Regions from separate parts of the Homo sapiens genome. Here region 1 is linked to region 2. Evidence: promoter capture Hi-C in 16 types of primary human blood cells and fetal thymus (Javierre and others, 2016). All regions are on one chromosome and are shown on one strand. The core of a region is centred on a gene start or on the middle of the fragment in contact, and the rest is flanking DNA. Distances in the headings are between cores, read along the strand shown. Region 1 overlaps DCHS2 (dachsous cadherin-related 2). Region 2 holds the start of FGG (fibrinogen gamma chain).

Region 1 (5,818 bases), core at 1,148-3,647, 280 kb before region 2:
ACCTTACAAGTATTCAGTCTTCATAAAGATTTATAGATGCTTGGAACTCTTAGTCATACTTAATACCAATTCTTATCCCCTAACTAACACTTTCCTATCAATAAAAGTAAATTTGTACTTCACATTATTGCAAATTACTCACTAAAGATGAATGGTTTCTATTAAGAACGTAAAAAGCTACTCTGATTTTTTATTAAACTTTAAATTACTTTTCAAAAACTGAAAGTAGTTCTTGACAATAGCAAATGTATTTTGTTTGTAACTTGGTGCTTTTTCAAAACTAACTACAGCATTCAAAGTAATCAAAATAGAACTTCTTTTCCCAGAAGGGGATAGTTGATAAATGAAAGCAGAAATCCTAAAAGTTCTTAATCCCGTATGAACAGTAAGTTTTACCTGAAGATACTGAGTATGTAACTTCTGCATTATTTCCTTCATCAGGATCCTTTGCAAACACAGTTGTAACCAACATATTTACTGGTTGACCTTCCAGAACCTGCCATTAAAACAAACAGCTTACAAATGAGTCAGCAAAAGTTTAAAAAGAAATATCAGTGGACCTTTAAATGAATGAATACATTATACTAAACATTTTAAACTATCTTAAAATCCACATATAATTCAAATGCATACCATGTAAAAGTTATATGGGTGTATGTCCATGAAAAGAATCCTCCTTACATATTAAATCTTTTATTCAATTAGAATGAATTATCTGAGGCATCTGAACTAATTCTGACCAAAAGAAAAAGAAATTGAACTTGCTAAACAATCTTAGATTTTTGGTGTATTTTAAGATTTCTAGCATATTCTCATTCATCATCTCTTAGGACATTTTTTGAAAGGTGGTTGCTATGGCTTAAAATATGCTTAAAATAAGTATGAACCTTTAATTCAGAAAACAAAACTCATGCAGGACATACCAATTATCAGGAGCTGTCCTGCAATGTTGAAATGCACATGTGAAGTTCAACTACATGTTTAGAGTCCAACTGCCCAATTAAGCCACAGGACATTTTAATGATATGATTAAAAAGTGTAATGATGATATAATAATATTTTGCTTTGTTAGAATTTTTCTTTAAAGCTGGATTCAGATCAGTTTAAAGTTATGAGTTCCTCAATACTTTTGTTGAGTTGTTCAATATGTATATTTGAGCACAATTTGAATGTCTAATTCAATTGTTCTGGAACAGTAGCTTCTAAACTTTTCATTATTATAACCCATCCACTAAAAAAATTATTAGTAGGTCCAAACATATTTATTAATTATGTGAATGAACTGATATTCTAATTTATTATGTATATTATACAACATACAAAAAGACAAATGAAAAAGATGAGATAATATAAATATAATTGCCAGTTGGTGCATGTGATCAAAAGGATCAACTTTTACTATCTCTGGATTTCCACCTACCCACTTTAGAGCTACAGGTTGTTCCCCTACCCTTAAGTAACTATCTTAGAGACATGTATCAATTGCCGTTAAGAAGCTCTGCACAAAGAGATGCACGTAAACTACTGGAAAAACAAGCCATGTCTGAGCATTAACCTGAAGCACCATTCAGTTTGTGTACAAGGGGCTGAACTAAACTTATTGTTATAAAGCAACTGGAGGTACAATGCCAAAGAGCACATATATTCATTTACTTTTTAAAAATTTTCTTTTAAAATAACATGTGCACAGTATCTAGGTCTTCTAGAAAAAGTATGCTTTGCCACACCAAGACTGATGTGATAAATTCACAGGTTTTACCACAAGATGGTGCTCAAAACAAATGACTTAAGATATTACAAATTCATTGCAAGGTTTCTTCACAAACCTTCACGTGTAACTCCTTTCCAGGGAGACACTGGGGGAAGAAGGGCCTGTTATCATTGATGTCAGTAACTGAGACGTAAACCGCCATGGTGGCGTTTCGTGGTGGGGAGCCGCGGTCTGTCACTAGCACAGTCATCTCATGGTGCCCCCGGTGCTCACGATCCAGTGCCACCCAATTGATTAACTCTCCTGCAGAGTACAGAGCAGAACAAGACACAGGCACTGTGTACCAGGCGCACCAGGGCCAGAACCATTTCCAGAAGGAAAACCAAGTACAAAGCTTTGAGCAAATATGCGACTTCTAAGACCATCTACATAGTAGTTTGGCTCTATGGTACTGTTGAAAAAATTTTCTCAAGTTGCTCCTGAAAATGTCACTTTAAATTTGTTATTCTTTGTATTTCAAATTATCATCCATCGATCATTTGAACTAATAAACAATGAATTCATAAAAATGATAAAACTCCGTGGGAACTTAGTAATGATTTGGAAGATTTAAAACTGCTGCTTATCCCTCTTTATGCTGCTATACAGAATGATGGAAAGCATGTGAGCTCTGACACAGGTTCTGGCTTTGGCCCCAGTTTCCCCATCTCAGACATGGAATGACTCCTCTGAGCCTGGGACTGCTGTCAGGAAGAAATGTAATCACACATTTAAAAGTATTGTGCAAGCTATACATGACGACACAAGTGGAAGCTGTTATTACTACTTTAACATAATGGCTAAATACCTTTCTGGAAATCAAATAATATCCCTTAGGCAATAGTTCTTGTTTTATGCACACAAGTATTTGTTTTTTATCTCACAAAATATACATGTAGCAGTGGATAGTGACTTCCTATAAAAACTCTTAATGCTTTAGAAGCTTTATTTCAAATATTTCTGCCTAGAGCTATACTACCTTCAGTAACTTTCCTCATGTGTCAGCCATGCAGACCCAGGCATAACATCTAAGTGCCTCTTCCTATTGCCAGGGACCTTGGGAAGACAAGCACTCGGTCCAATAGCCTGTCAGAGCTCTGCCAAGCATTGATTTCCTCACCATTTATGAAAAAAAAATGTACCTGTGAGAATGTGAGCATGAAGCAGCTACCGACAAACATTTCTGTGGCTAAAAACTTTTTTCCTCTTAATACAAATAAAATAGCATTGCATTAAAAAAAAGTGGAAACAGGGAACAAAAATGAAAATTCTCATTTAGGTAAGTTGCTGAATTGGTGAGCTTAAATGCAGTGTTTATGATAACTGTTTACTGTTAATATATAAACTATATTTATAGTGTTTACTCGGTGGTTTTAATATAGATCATACACACAATTGCTTTTTTTAAATTCCAAACTATAATTCTCCTCCGAAGACCTTAACTTCTGAATGGCAAACAGATTTTTATTCATAAAGCAAATCTGATGGATAAGCAGCAGCCTTGGAGGTCGGGGATGTAAAAGACTGTGCAGCTCAGGCTGCAGCTGGGGATGGGCGACACCAGGATATGGTTCCACAGGAGCTCAAGTCCTGGTCACTTGTAGGACTGTCCAGAGAACTGGATGAAAAGGGGGTGTGTCTCCCAGGCTCTGAAGGACACCCTCCACCCTGCCTTGCCATGCTGTCCTTGGGAGGAGGAACAGTTTACAAGCACGTAGTGTTCCAAGCCCTTTCATATTCTTTAGCTCTTTACCCCTCAAAGCATGGCACAGGGCGTGTCAGGAATTGTCTCCTGTATTCATGGTAAGGAAGCAGCTCTGAGCTTAAGCTACTTGCTTAAAGCCATACAATGAAATTAGGAATGGACACCTCGTTTTCTTGTAGGGGAGGGAAGATCACGGGGGAATCAACTGTAGTTTGCTTATTTTAAAGAAAAAAACAAGTGAAATAGAAGACCTTGAAAACTAGCCATATGGAAGTAAAGTGCAAGCAGGGTCATCCCATATAGCTGTATGGTTTGTGCCCTTGCAGCAGGAGTCTCAGTTTAGGGAGTGAATGAGAGTGGAAAGGCAGCTTGCAACCTTCTTGGCAAGCCATGTGCCCTGTGAAAACCCTCCATCTGCTGTGAAAGGTCACCTTCTCCTAATTCACAGAACAGAGACTTGAGAACAAAGGCTTGAAGTTCATCAGAACTGAATGCAAAGTCTGTCCCACTAAAGGCAGCAGCACCATCTGCCCAGGTTATGACATAGATGGTGCCTGCTGGACCTGCACAAAAAGGGAGCTTCTTCTCATCTTACCAGCTCCATGACTTTGGGTGTACTACTCGAGCTATCTGAGTTTCAGTTTTCCCGGGTATGTATTTGCAGTATAGATATGTTTCATTGTAAGGATTAAATAAACTCCCCGTAAACTTATACAACATAAATTTTAAAATATAGTGACTTTTAATCTTTAATTTCTTAATTCAGACTTTAAAAATTTCACTGTAATTATTCCCCCTTTTCCTCTGGTTCCCCTGTCAGAATGAGAAAAAGGATATATATTCTTAGAGTGATTTTGAAATCTTAACCAATGAATTGATGTCTAGCTTTACATTGATGATATTTATATTTCACAAAATACGTTTTGACGTTTTTTAAATGTCTACAAATGGAAAAGGATGGTTGTTGAAAAAATTAGCCTTTACACAAGGATATATTCAATCCAGTTCTGACTATACCTCTAGTTCAGAAAAAGAACCATATATTGGCAAGATGGGGATGTGATGCAGGGAAAGTATGAATTATTATGGGTGAAACTCTATTCAATTTTTAATCCATTTTTAAGACCTCACAATAGAGTAATCGAATACCTTATTTATTAAAAACCATTATTTCAATTGCATGTATGCACTAATGCTATACCTAACGACTTGAGTTTTCTCAATCCTGATTTTGTTTAATTTTTTATTTTTATTTTTACTTAAAGACGAGTGTGATAGTACTGAACCCTCATTTTAAAGGAATAGGTGGAAACTATGAAGTGCTACCTGTATTAGGATTCATCTTGAAGAATTTTCCATCAGACAAAAGGAAATATAATAGCTGTCCATTCTTTCCAGAGTCCATGTCAATAGCTGTAATTTTGCCTATTACCCCTTGGGGAACAGGGCTCTCTTCGACTTTCAAAAACAACACATCATGCAAGAAGGTGGGGGAATTGTCATTCTCATCCCAGACACGAACAATGACTGTAGTGCTCACATTTTGCAAGAATCCGTCCTCGGGGATCCAAGCAAACACTCTAAAATTATATGTTTGGGTGGATTCATAGTCAAACTGTCGCCGCAAATAAATCCAGCCCGTGTAAGGGCGGATTCCAAACATAGCAGAGTCTACGCTGGGTTCCAGCGAGTACCTAAGAGGCGAGGCTGCACGCTGGGGGCCAAGTGGGTGCGCCTGTGTTTGCAGCATTTGTGTCATCGGTGAGAGAGACTCACTGACTTCCACTTGATAGACCAAATGTTCGAAAGTCCAGGATGGGCTGTGTTCGCGTTTCTCGATAACGACTGTCAGCACCAGCAGGGCTGCCTGAGGATGCACGCCTTGGTCCTCGGCCCTGAGAGTCAGCGTGAGCTCCCGCTGCTCGCCCGCGCCCAGGCTGCCGTTGAGGAACAGCACCCCCAGGGCTCTGTCGATGGCAAAGACGCCTGGCTGCGGGCTGGCGATGGAGTACCGGATGAGTCCGTTCCGCCCACTGTCTCTGTCTTCCGCACGTGCGAGGTACAAGGCTGTGCCAGGGGGCGTGGTCTGGGATATTCTAATCTCATCCGAGGTCCTGAGGAACGCTGGGTGGTTGTCATTGACATCCATGACTGTTATGTTGACCTCGGTGCTGCTGCAGGCTGGGGCGCTGCCGAGCTGCGCCTGCACCGTGAGCACAACCACGGGCTGCGTCTCGTGATCCAGGGGCTTCCGGGTGCGAATAGTGCCCAGCCGCGGGTGAATGGAGAACTTTCCGCCGAGATCACCAGAAGAAATCCTGTAAAAGATTGGTTCTGAGGAGTCTGAAAAAGAGAGAGGGGAC
Region 2 (6,381 bases), core at 1,775-4,274:
TCTGAAACACAGTCCATCCATTTCCAGACCCATCGATTTCACAGTAGACTAAGAATTGCTGGTTAGCTTTCAGAGGTTTAATAAAGTAAAGCCCGCTCTGTTTAGCTCCCTTATTGGCAATGTCTTGACAATCTAGAGAAGGAGAATCGACTTTTACTGTGGTTTGAAATGCAGGTAAGACTGTGCCAGCCTTGAAAAATAGCTTTTAACATGTAGTAAACTATTCATTTTCCAAGAATAATTTTCTTACTTTTCACATCAGCATTCCTTTTAAACTGTTTTTTTTAGCTATTCAAGAAAGGTCTAGACAACTGAAATTCTTAGACTTAATGGGTAGCCACTTTCTAAACTATTCCTATACTTTCCAGTACATACTTTCTCCTTTACATTACTTACTTTGATGAACCTAATCCCAATATAACCTTCATCAGTTACCTTTCCCAGTGATATCATGGATTTGCACCGTGTCTTTGCAAGGTTCCTGGCACTGTGCTTCAAGCTGGGCTACCTTCTCTTTCAGGTTAACAATCTTTTGATTATTTGAATTATATATTTCCTGCAAATATCTACAAACAGAAACATAAGATAACAAAAATAAGAAGACAAAAATAAGTATTCCTTTCAGAAGAGTAATTTTATATTTTCTTTGGAAACTGCTAAGTATTTTCTTAAGAAGTGCTTTCTGATAAATTATTCCATTCTTGAGGAAAATGTAAAATTATATTACTAAATTAACATGAATTAAAATTATAAACTTTTTGAAAAAGAAAAACAAATCAAAAAATCAATTAAAACAGGAATACAATGTGGACCTGAATCTTTTTACTTAGAATGGGGCATATTGTCTCAACTCCCAACACAAATAACAAAGTCCTTGTCAATAAGCAAATGTCATTGACATTTTGCTTTTTACTTTATGCATAAGGGACAGCAGATAGCAACCTGCAAGAGTGGCGGGACTGGTTAATAGGAACACCCCCTGATGCTTTAGAAGCAGGAAAAGCTCAGTTCAGTAATTCACATGTGCTGAAGGAGTATACCTTTCACTTGTGGATCTACTGAGGCTATACATATAAGCTTCAATCTAAAATATAACTTACACAGGGACATGATCTGGAACGTTATTGTATGTAAAATAAAACAACAGATACTTCCCCTTTCTTCTTTAATGCTTCTGGTTACATAGCTTTGGGAATGGACTGGGGGAAGTAAAAACCCTCCTTTTGTAGTTACTTACAGGGTGGCTTGCAAATATCCAAAAATGATAGAAAACTGTCTACAATGCATAAACCGTTCTTTCTTTGAAGTAAAAAAGGGTAGACAAACTATTTGTCCACGTTTTCCCTCTACCTTGTCTTAGGCAATTTCTGTACAATAACCTCCTTCAACTTCAATGATGGACAATAATAATGCAAGTAATAATAATAACAATAATAACAAGGGCCCTCTGATAGCAAAAAGAGGAGAAATCTTTCCTGGGCCACTTCTCCCTAGCTACTATTTATCTCAATTTCTCAAGCTGCTTTGAGAAAAATTCAGAAAAAAAAATTGGGGAAAAATATTAAAACTGTATCTGAGACCTTATGTTCAGAAAGTTTATGAGTCCCTGAGAAGCTTTAACAGAGACATTCACTTCCAAATGAAGGGAAGAGACTATGCAGGTTCATTCTGCAATGATCAATATGAGCTTTGCAATATTTGCCACACTTAGTCTCTCAAGACATGTTTCTTCCTGCTCCACATTCAATATAATTTACTTTAGGAGCCAAAATCCTTACTATGCCTCTGCTTGCTAATTTTTTTAACCACCAATTTGTCAGCATTTTTATAAAGAGGATTTTATTTTCAACACCCAAATTCCTATGAGATTGATTTTATGTTGTAAGATAAATGGGGGATGGGGAAAAAATTTTTGATAAATATGGTCAAACTAGCATTTGAAGACATCTAGAACATCTTTCTTCAATGTGATTATTAATAAGCAATTATAACCCAGTATAATTTATATTGCACTAAAAACTTCTATCTCTACTATGCTCAACATAATCAGGCATAATGTCACTGGGATATTATAAATGGGGAAAACACATTAAAAATTACTTTCACTCAAGTATAGAATATTAAATAAAAACTAAATCAGTCTTGCAGAGCAAATTAAAACAAAAATCCTTACCGAATACTTGAGTCATGTGTTAAAATCGATGCTTCATATTTCATAATTTCTTCTAACATTTTCCTGGACTTCAAAGTAGCAGCGTCTATCATATCTGTAATATAGGATCAGAGACATAAAAATCCTTAAGCAAATAGAACAACTAAAACAACAGCAAAAGAACTTCACAGATTATTATTATTATTTTTTGGTCAGTAGTCTTTATTTTCTCACTTGGTTTTGATGATTCATCAGGATTATAAGTGAGTTGGATTGCTTTTATCAGCTGTTTGACTTCTGATGTTTTGTTTTCAACTTGATGTAAGATGTCTTCCAAAGACTGTAGATCCTTGTCTACTTTGGTTTGATAAGTAGACAGGAAATCTGCAATGCCACAGGTAGTTGGACAATAACTACCCTGAAAATATAACAGTGATTAAAAATGTAGACAGATGCTACTCTTAAAATCTATTAAGAAAAATAGGTAAAACCTAGACTATGTTTTTAAAAAGTTACAAGTGCCAGATGATATTTATGAGGGAATTATTTCTATTCCTCTGCCCCTCTCCAGTTCACACACAAAGGGAGAAACATAAAAACTACTTACGAATCTTTCATCTAAGATGCAGCAGTTGTCTCTGGTAGCAACATACTAAAAGAGAAAAAATACAGAAATTTCACTAGTTTATTATCTGTTTTATTTTCCAGCTTTCCATTTTAAACAACGTTTTGTGAAGAGCACACTTACTGCTACACATGTTGAAGAGAGAAATAAAAGAGCATAGAAGTAGAGAATTAAATTCCGGGGGTGCAAGGACCAACTCATGATGTCTGAGTGCCCGGAGCTCCGAGCCTTGTAGTGTCAGCACTGTCACCTCTCAGGCTCCAATTGTCCCTTTATGTAAGCTCCTGGGATAGCCAGGACTGCAAATGGCTGGAGCTGATCACGGGGCCTCCTTACCAGAAGGGTGGGCAGGTCTTTCCCGTTCCTTTTTCCTCATCCTGGCCCCCAACCTATACTGTCAGGTTCCCAGATTTTGCACACAGGTTGAAGCTCCTCCTTTTTGGCCCAGCTCAAGGTTTTTTCTCTGATCCAAAATTATCTGCAAAGGCTAGTGAAGCATTATCCATTGCTGTGAGGAGGAGGGCAGTCCTGGAGGCTGTGTGATGCAACTTCTTCCAGTACATGGCTGAGAGCAAACAGATATGACCTCGAACTAAGCAAACCTAGTCTATCCTTAAGATGGGTCCTGCTGCCATCACCTGAATTACCAAAAGAACTTTCTTAGCTTAGGGATCAGTTAACACTATTATTTTAGCCTAGGGATCAGTTAACATTATTATTTTTAATCTGTGGCTGTGGCAGGAGGAGACTGACTTCCCCCATGTCCCAGTTCACTATTCCCAGGAATGAATGACCCTGGAAATACATTCCTGTCCCTCTGTGTCAACCATGTTCATAGGCTCTCACTTCTCAGGGAGCTTTTGAGCTCAATCTTCCCTTTGTCTGAAGGTGGGCATGGCACCCCATCTGCCACAGAGAAAAGAGCCAGGAGCCCACTTCATTGTTCCTGTGGTTCCATCAAGCTATCTCAGAGAAGAGAAAAATCCACCTCCCTTGTATCTAAGGAGAGTAGAGGCATAGCTGAAGGAAGGGGCAAAATGAGGTGCTGGGGAGGGGCCATCATTTCTGTTTGGCCCTTACAGCATCCTTGTGTTTGGGAAAACATGTCTGTCATCACTGCCTATTGAGATTTATCACTGGGCGTTACACTATTATTAATGTCTCTATTTTTGGTTATCCCTCATTTCTTCCTCTGGAACCAAGCTTATTATAAGTTTTGATGAAATATGTTAGTGGGAGAAATGCCTCCAGTTTGAAAGAAATACTAATACTTTAATTCTGTCTTTACAAAGGTATATTTATTGACTCAAAAACAAAGATAAATATTCATATTCAGTAAATAATCAATAATTATAACAAAGTGAACACATCAAAACCAGATTTGTTGCTTTTCTTCTCCTCCTTAATATATCCCTCTCTGACTTAGCAGTTATTGTCAATCATATCACCATACCACCAGCCAATTAAGTCTCACAATCTTTCTCATCCATCTTTTCCACTCAGCTAATCAGTTGTCAATCAAGTCAGTTGAATTAAACATTTAAGTATTAGTATTCTTTCAAACAGCTCTACCTCAGATAGCATTTGTAGCAACCTTATATTATATGTATACATGCTGTATCCACTGCATTAGATTGTAAACTGATTTCTGTGGCTACGGCATCTAACATATATAGCTGTACTTAACATAGTTGTAGTTAACACTCAATAACTATGTAATGACTTGAATCAGTTGCCTCTGTGAAGAAGAATGGGATGCAGAGGTGGAGGACAGGATTGGAAAAAAAGGCTTTATTTTTCTCTGTAAACTTTCTATATTTAGAATGTTGAATGTATATAAATATTATCTACTAAAATATATATAATGAAAATATGTAATTATTGATCATTCACAAAGATTTACATAGTACACTGATAATTACATCTTGCTAACTTTTTAATATGATTTGAACATGAAAGGTGACTCAGGCATTGCCTTTGCCTTCAAGAAGTGTGTAGCTCAATTGGAGAATGTATAAATAAATAGTTGTTAAGGCTCTGGAGTCCATCTCCCTAGGTTTGAGTCCCATCTTTACAATTTACTGGCTGTGTGATTCAGTACAAGTTACTCAATCTCCTTGAGTTCCATTATCCATGTCAGTAAAAGAGAGATAATACTTATGATATGGTATTTACTTAATAGGGCTATTACTAAGATTTAGTGGGATAATGTGTTGAGCACATTACCCAATTCATGGTAAGTGTTAAGTAAATGTTTGTAAGGTTTATGAATTACCAAATATATTTGGTATAAAATCTATGTAAATAGGAAACTCTTTTAATAGAGCTATTATTGGTAGATTTGGTTCACAGGGAACAAGCTTTGTTGTTCTAGCTACAGAAATTCTCTTTAATAAAAAATCTGTTGCAACTAACTGCAGTCTCCTTCTGTAAGATTCCCCAGAGAAGAAAGCACCTGGTCGTTTAGTTTAGGAAATTCTATCCAAATTGATTTTACCAATCAAAGATCAAATGATAATATAAATGGATTGCATGCCTTGTGAGAAGGTATACTTCCTATCTGTAAGAATGTTCAAGCAAAGTGTGTTTAGACAGAGCATGTCTTTGTGGTTCTTTTTGCTGAAGACCATAAAATATTAGTTTGTTGAATTTAGGGTAACAATTCATGCAGCCACAGGTTGGGTTCTGAGCTCCTTAATGTCATAAAGTTTCATTGGTTGTGTTAAGATATATAATATTCACAAAGTTGATAAACATTTAAATTGAGGACATTAGAAATTCTATCTTATCCCATTTTAGAAGTGGAATACTTGTATTACAGGCTTTTAACTGACTTATATTGGAATCCAGATGTGTTATCACAATTTTAGAGAAAATAATTTCCTTTTACTACAATCTCAAGTCCTAAATCCAAATCATATAAGACAAGATGCTTGCTCTCTGAGAAAAAAAAATGGTCAACAGTGATTTAGCGGTCTACATTGGCCCTGCATTCAATCTAGTATCACTTAGGTTTATTAAATTTTAACTAGTTTTTTCATGTTTGGGCCAATTTTTTCTTTGAAAAATGATAAATGATTGATGAATTCCAGGAATGAAGAATGTTTCTTAAATCACAGTTCTTCTACTTCCAGGTATGTTTTTTGAGATAATAGCATAGGTAGTATTTAAGCCAAAATAATCATTTACTGTAACTCTGAGGTCAGTGGGCTTGTTTATTGAAATAATAATGTCCCAAATTCCCTATCGTCCAACCGTTTGTGTTCTGATTTGAAAACACAAATCTACAGCTAACAGTCTTCGTGTATATTGGTAATTTACTCTGTGAGCCAAGTCTGTTACATTCATCTTTGCTCCAAAATTATTTGCTGAATTTAAATTTGATTATGTAGAAGACTTCTTGACCTAGTGACAAATGATATAGCCCTAAGGAATAATAGAAAGAACTACCAATTTTGAGCATCTTCTTTATGCTAGATATTATGTGGTAGTATAGTTTTTGTTGTCATGTATATTCTCTCATTTAATCCTCACCACAAGCCTAGGAAGTAGATATAATTACCTGTATCTTATAATGAAAAAAGAAAGGCCTAGAGATGTTGTG

The links. Contacts are between HindIII fragments. The CHiCAGO score rates a contact against its expected background, and 5 or more counts as called.
Region 1: a fragment that was not itself captured here is called in contact with the fragment with the promoter of FGG in region 2 in 2 of 17 cell types (naive B cells and total B cells); the score reaches 6.8 in naive B cells.

The regions. Positions count from the first base shown.
Region 1 is chr4:154,327,697-154,333,514 of GRCh38, forward strand. DCHS2 (dachsous cadherin-related 2) reads right to left here. Exons shown (of 20, transcript NM_001358235.2): 5 at 4,782-5,798; 6 at 1,827-2,014; 7 at 397-496. Among named protein-coding and RNA genes, the nearest start is that of DCHS2, 160 kb to the right of the region's middle. The HindIII fragment of the contact is 588 bases long and covers 2,104-2,691 here.
Region 2 is chr4:154,609,632-154,616,012 of GRCh38, forward strand. It overlaps FGG (fibrinogen gamma chain), which reads right to left and starts at 3,025. Exons shown (of 9, transcript NM_021870.3): 1 at 2,901-3,025; 2 at 2,760-2,804; 3 at 2,387-2,570; 4 at 2,174-2,267; 5 at 436-566; 6 at 1-132. The coding sequence starts at 2,978. RefSeq lists an enhancer at 3,067-4,239. The HindIII fragment of the contact is 2,366 bases long and covers 1,613-3,978 here.